2 separate regions of the Homo sapiens genome follow, and region 2 is linked to region 1. Evidence: promoter capture Hi-C in 16 types of primary human blood cells and fetal thymus (Javierre and others, 2016). All regions are on one chromosome and are shown on one strand. Each heading gives the region's core, a stretch centred on a gene start or on the middle of the fragment in contact. The rest is flanking DNA. Distances are from core to core; before and after follow the strand shown. Region 1 holds the start of NFYB (nuclear transcription factor Y subunit beta). Region 2 holds the start of C12orf75 (chromosome 12 open reading frame 75).

The links. Contacts are between HindIII fragments. The CHiCAGO score rates a contact against its expected background, and 5 or more counts as called.
Region 2: the fragment with the promoter of C12orf75 here is called in contact with the fragment with the promoter of NFYB in region 1 in 3 of 17 cell types (fetal thymus, total B cells and non-activated CD4 T cells); the score reaches 8.3 in fetal thymus.

The regions. Positions count from the first base shown.
Region 1 is chr12:104,136,558-104,139,811 of GRCh38, forward strand. It overlaps NFYB (nuclear transcription factor Y subunit beta), which reads right to left and starts at 1,653. Exons shown (of 8, transcript NM_006166.4): 1 at 1,584-1,653. RefSeq lists enhancers at 212-805, 806-1,397, 2,221-2,390 and silencers at 1,017-1,146, 1,207-1,286, 1,387-1,486, 1,537-1,836. The HindIII fragment of the contact is 8,431 bases long and covers 1-3,254 here.
Region 2 is chr12:105,328,862-105,332,042 of GRCh38, forward strand. It overlaps C12orf75 (chromosome 12 open reading frame 75), which reads left to right and starts at 1,830. Exons shown (of 6, transcript NM_001145199.2): 1 at 1,830-2,076. The coding sequence starts at 2,031. RefSeq lists silencers at 1,466-2,125, 2,156-2,255 and an enhancer at 2,912-3,181. The HindIII fragment of the contact is 8,522 bases long and covers 1-3,181 here.

The sequences.
Region 1 (3,254 bases), core at 403-2,902:
ACGAGAAATGTTATTTTTTAAAGAGTGTCTTTGAAAAAATAAGCCCTCAGAACACTTAAAACATGGGAGCTATATTTATGTATTTTGCTTGGAATGGGAGAGGGGGGTGTGGGCAGGGAGTCATACCACACCACACTCACTCACCCAAATAGTTGATTCAGTATATATTTAGACTCAGTACATTAAAGAAAAACACTGTCACCTCATATGGTGTATATTTTCTTAAGGGCAGGTTGATATATGTAAAAGCTCAAGGGAATGCATACATCTGTTTAATGTTTTAAGAAATGCAAATTTGTATCCAAGAAAAGCAGTAGTCCCTTCCTCCACCCTCCATTCTTTGGCATCAACAACCAGAGTTTTGCATCAATATACAGTAATCCTTAAATTAAGATACAAGAGCAATGCAGGGAAGGAATAATTTGCCTTTTAAGGAATTTTGGTTAAACTTTCAATACTTTACAAATAAACCCCCCACTGATTAGTGCCACTGATATTGATCCGTTTGCTTTCATCACTTTATGTTGCTGATTAGTTTCCATACTAAGAGAGATGAAACCACCCCAGTGATTTGTAGCACGAACCACGCAACTATGGGGTCCATGCGGGTTAGTGGGATGCCATTTTTTTAAAGGTCGCAGGCTACCTAACCTTGTTTAAATTATCCTGTTAGAGTGCTTTGGGCGAGATTACGATTTGTGGGTGCTCTGTAATTCTTTGTTCTCTAAGACTACCGTTCTTTAAGGCCCTGCATATCCTCCCGCCTCCCACCACTAATGATTAAAACCTTAGTCCAATCCGAAGGGCTTCCTTCCCACCTTCGGGGCAAGTACAGGGACCGCAAACCGCCAGATGGCTGCATTCTTTACGCGCAAACCAGGCTGCGGGGAAGCTAAAGCCATGCCTTCCTCCCCACGCAGGTGCCTGGGTGGCCCCGGCCCCACGGCCTGGTCCCGGCGACCTGTCAGCCCTGCGAGTGCCAGGAGGCCGCCCCCAGAGCGCATCCCCTGACTCGCCCGGCCGCCCCGGCCCCGCGCCCAACGCCTGCCTCCCACCCGCCGCGCGGCCCCCGGGATGTGCGGGCAGACAAAGCGCCGGGCCCCGCCACAGCCCCGCGGGCGGGAGGAGGGCGCCCCCGGGGACTCGCGCCGCCGCCGGGGCTACGGGGCCAGGGCCCGGGCCGCGTCTCCCGCCCCTCGGCCGGCTCCCCGCACAAAATGGAGCCGGCCCGGGACGCCGTCGAGAGCGGGGCCCCGACGCAGCCCCGCGGCCCCTCCTCGGCCCCGGGCCCGGAGCTCAACGGCGGCGAGGGTGAGGTGGCCTGGCCCGCGTCCCGCCGCTCCTCAGCCCGGCGCACAAAGAGCCGCGCCGCGGCCCCGCGCCCGCTCCCCGGCCCGGCCCGCTGCGGGAGCGGCCTCGCAGGCGCGGGGCCCGGCCTCGGCCCGCGCGGGAGGGCGGGAGGCTAGTGCCCCCGGCCGCGGCGGCGTTGGCGGCGGGGACGGCGCCGGGAGGAGACGGACATTTCATTCGAGCTAAAGTGGAGTCGGTTTAGGAGCGATCATTGGCCGAAGCGAGACACAAACCTCCAATGCAGCCCTGGTTGGCTCCCGTCTCCAATCGGCTGTTTGGTTGGACAGAAAATGGCTGCGAAGGAACCAGTCCCAGCGCGGAGCTCCGCTTCCAGGACTCGGCCTCCCCTCCCTCCGCCGCGGGCCGCTTCCCTCGGCGCGACACCCTCCCTCCGCGCCGCCCGCGCGCCCGCCCGCCGCGGCCCCGCCCCGCCCCGCCCCGCCCCCGGCCCCGCCCCGCCCCCGGCCCAGTCCCGCGTTCCTGTGAGGCCTCCGCGCCGCTCCGGATGCCGCTCCTCTAGGCGCGAGGTCTTCCAGGGCCCTGCCCGGGCGCGCCGTTCGGGTCTAGGCGGGCCTCCTTCCCGGTGCTGACCCGGGCCTGTGCGAAGCGGGATCTCTCGGGCGTCCCTCTCTTTGTCACCCCTTCCCCCGCCACGTGGAGGTGCCTCAGCCGCCTGAGCTCAGCCTGCCTGCGCCTGGATTTTTAAGAAGGGGAAACCAAGGACAGAAGCCGCCCCCTAGGACGACGCGCCCGAGCCACCGGGAGGGTCTGAACGGCGGGGGCCTCCTGGAGCGCCTTCAGCGCCTCGTGTTTTCTTTCCTTGGGTCCCTGTTAGCGTCGCCGCATGCACAGCGCTCCCTGTCATTTGGTCCCTGAGCTTGGGTGTTTTTCACATTTCATCTAAAGATGCAGACCCCTGCTAAGTCTAGCCAGCCTTCACCCTGAATCTTGAACTTAAGATGCTGCATTTTCCACCCACCCCCACCCCTCTAGTAGCTGCAGATTGACAAGCGGCTTTTCCCAACCAGATGACATTTTGGCTGCAAGAATCCGTGGCCCGTTCTTGCCTCTGTGCAGCCAAGCTCCTTCGCTGTCTTTCTCAAACTGCAGTCCTGAGTTCAGCTTCGCTTAGCAGTGACCATCCCAGAGGTGGGTAATCCAACACTGGATCCACTCACTGCAACCGGAGCTGGGGATGGCATGCCCTCTGCTTCCACTAACCGAGTGGCCTGCACCACATTAAACTCTCCAGCTTTGATTATGTAAAAATACAGAGATCTTTTATTTATAGAGTTCCTACTGTTTCTCAGAGTATTTAAACATTTCTGCGGCAAGTATGGAAGAAAAGACAAATGAAAGCCCCAAATTGTGACAAGAGGAGTAAGTAGCAATGCCACTGTCATCAGACAACCTGACTTGAATTCCAACTCCCCTTCTTACAGGCTTGTGATCTTGGCCAAATGTCTGCTTCTCAGGGTTGTTTGGGATAATGTATACATAGAAAGCCCTTTAAAAAAAAAAAGTTATCCCAGCACTTTGGGAGGCCGAAGCAGGCCGATCACCTGAGGTCAGGAGTTCGAGACCAGCCTGACCAACATGGCGAAACCCCGTCTCTACTAAAAATACAAAAATTAGCCGGGCGTGGTGGTGGGCGCCTGTAATCCCAACTACTCAGGAGGCTGAGGCAGGAGAATCGCTTGAACCCGGGAGGCAGAGGTTGCAGTGAGCCGAGATCACACCATTGCACTCCAGCCTAGGCGACAGAGCAAGACTCCATCTCAAAAAAAAAAAAAAAAAAAGTTATCCTAAGATCTTTATATAGCATGAATTTCTTCAATCTCCATCAAACATTTAAAAGGTGTTATTTGCTTAGAAAAAAAAAAGGAAAAATTGGCCTGAGTTTA
Region 2 (3,181 bases), core at 580-3,079, 1.2 Mb after region 1:
ATTTTCTGTCTCTTACAAGTGTCCTAAGGCTGGAGTCTAGTGTCAGCACAGAAATAAGCAGGAGAATATCTTTCGGCTACTTGATAGTTCCCTTTTCCCCAGTTCTGGCTATGTATTAGGATGGACACTGAACCAAGACAGCACAGGCTGGTAGAGAAGCAGTACTTCTAGAAGTCAACTAAAAAATGCCTTTATTTATCCAAGAATTAATTATCCTCTCAGCACATGGCTACCACAGCTAATTTTCAAATGGAGAATGCTGTATATTTTGCATCCTGAATGATAGAACGCACCATTGCCTCAAAGGCCATGTTCAAAAACCTGCCAAGTCCTTGATTCTGGTTCATATTTTTATTTTTATGTAAACACAACAGTATGGTTTCAGGGAAGTCTGTTTTTTTTTTGTTTTGTTTTGTTTTTTTGAGACAGAATCTCGCTTTGTCACCCAGGCTTGAGTGCAGTGGTGCTATCTCGGCCCACTGCAACCTCCACCTCTCAGGTTCAAGTGATTCTCTTGCCTCAGCCTCTTAAGTAGCTGGGATTACAGGTGTATGCCACCACACCCAATTAATCTTTGTATTTTTAGTAGAGACAGGGTTTCACCATGTTAGGCTGGTCTCGAACTCCTGACCTCGTGATCCGCCCGTGTCAGCCTCCCAAAGTGCTAGTTTACAGGTGTAAGCTACCATGCCTGGCCTTAGGCAAGTCTTTTAACTAGCATCCCAGCATCCTCTGGGACTCTATGGCACCTGTATTCCTCTGTTAACATTCCTTCTATATTGTAATTAATTTATTTTAATCTATCTGCCTGGTTAGACTGTCTCCCACATATTTGTATCCCCGGAACTTAACAAAGGACTTGGCACAGGCTAGGCTCCCTACAAATATTAAGTGAATTTAAAATGGAGCTTTAATTCCTGGCTTGAAGTCACCTCACAAAACATTTAGTGAGTCTGTATTACAAGCCAGGAGGACGCTATGAAAAATCAGATAGTCTTTCCCTTTAAGGAATTTGTATTCATTTCTATTAGAGTTAATAATAATAATGATAATAGCTGATATTTACTAAAGATAGGGAACTTTGTTAGGTACTTTATATGTACCTGAGTTACTGTCATTTTATAGGTGAAACAAGGGATGTACCCAATGGGTTAAGTTACTTTCCTGAGGTCACGCAGCTATCACGGGGCAGAACGAAGACTTTAACTCAGACAGTCTGACTGCAGTAACGCTGGCCCAACTATCATGTTGAAACGTACAGCACCGTGCCCATCCACAGTTCTCTCATTTATCAGAGAGGAGGTCCTGAATCCAAGTTATTGAAATCGTTGCAGACATTTGTTTTAAAGAGGAATAGGTCAAGATGACCAATCTGGGGAAGAACTTTTGCCAGGCAGTGCGTATGGGGAACAGAGCTGCGTTGGCCTTCTGTTAAAGCAGCTGGGGATTTCGGTTTTGGCTTCAGACCTGCACAACATTCAGTCAATAGCATTTATTGGGCGTCCACTGTGCAGGGTGCCCCCTGCTACTTCCTCTCCTCCCCACATCCTGGGGCAGGGAGGGGAAGTGAGGAAAGAAAAGCAAAGACAAGGCGAGGAGGATGCTGAGGGTGGGCAGGTGGGCACCCCCACCCCGCTGCGCCGGCCACGCCCCTTGCCGCTCCCTCGCCCCGGGGCCCACTTTAAACTCCCGCCCCTCGTAATAACGACCAATGGCCGACCGCGAAGCGCGCAGGAGGCTGGGGATTGGCCAGTGCCGAGGTTGCTGGGGCGACGGGTGGGTCCGGCGGGTCCCCGGGCGGGGCGGGGCCGGGGCGAGGGGTGCCGGGTGGTTTCCGCCCGGCAGCCCGCAGCCCGCTGCGCCCCGGGCCGCGTCTCCCGGCGGTGGGAGGGGGCGGCCCCCACTCGGTTCCTGGCCCCTCGCGGCCCCGTCAGCCTCCCGCTCGGGGTGCGCCGCCCTTCGTCTGGGTCTCCGCCCCCAGGACCCGCGGCCGAGAGCTCCGGAGCGCGGCTTCCCCGGCCGGCTGCGCGATGGGCTGCGGGAACTCCACCGCCACCAGCGCGGGCGCGGGCCAAGGTGAGTCCGGCGGGAGGCGGGGGCCGGCGGGGGCGGGCGGGAGAGGCGGCGGGAAGGAAGGGTGCAGGGATCTTGGGTGGGGGGCGCGCAGCCCCCTCTCCCCGTCCCCATTTTCGGGACAGGAGCAGACCGCCCGTTTCTGGAAAGACCGAAAGCGTGGCAAGTCCCCCGCGCGGGGGCGGTTGCGCCTGGAGCAGTCGAGCCTGCGGGGCGTCTCTGCCGAGGGAGCGCGGGGAGGACTGTCGCGGGCTCCCCTGCAGCCGCCGGGGCTCACCTGCAGCTGGCGGGTCTCAGGGCTCTCCTGGGGGAGAGGATTCCCGGACGTGGTCCCCGGCCGCTCCCCCACCTCCCACACTTGCTCCTCCAGGCCTCTCCCCCATCTCCTCGGAACCAAGGCGCTGCACCTGGAAAAGTGCAGCAGAGCAAGACAGGACTTTTCGGGCAGTGGTGGTGGGGCAGGAAGCGGGGAAGGGTGGGAGTGGGGTTGGGGAGAACTAGAAGCAGAGCTGCAAAAACGCATCTGTGTCTGCCTTGATGCCGAAGACCGGCTGGGCTGCTCTTAGGATTTCTCTGAGAAGCTGCAGCAGTAAGGATGTTTTACATATGTGAGACAGAGCTTTATTATTAACAGTCTGTTAAGATACTTTTCATTAAACACACACACACACACACACACACACACACACAAATAGAAACTTCTTTTTATACCACTTCATGTTGATTGGCAGGCAAGGTCTTCTAGCTTCCCCGGGCCAGCCAGGCTTTGTGTCAAGTGACTTTTGCCAAAACTCACCCTTCTATTTCACCCTGCCTATGTCTCGGGATTTAAGGTACCCTGGATCTGTTTTGAGTAATAACTGCTGACCTATTTCAGTGTCCTTTTGGATAAAGAGCTCCTATCTCCTCCAATTGAAGTCAACCAGATGCCACATCCTAGCCTAACCAGCAAATGCAAACAGCAGTCAGAGGCTGCGGTATTTCCTAGGCGGCTGTGGAGGCCCTGGCAATGACTTTGTAACCTTGGGCCTGTCACATCCCTTAACCCAGACGCCGGTAAAAAATGGAGTTTAAGACTCAATTTGAGTCTTGAATTAAATCCTGTCCT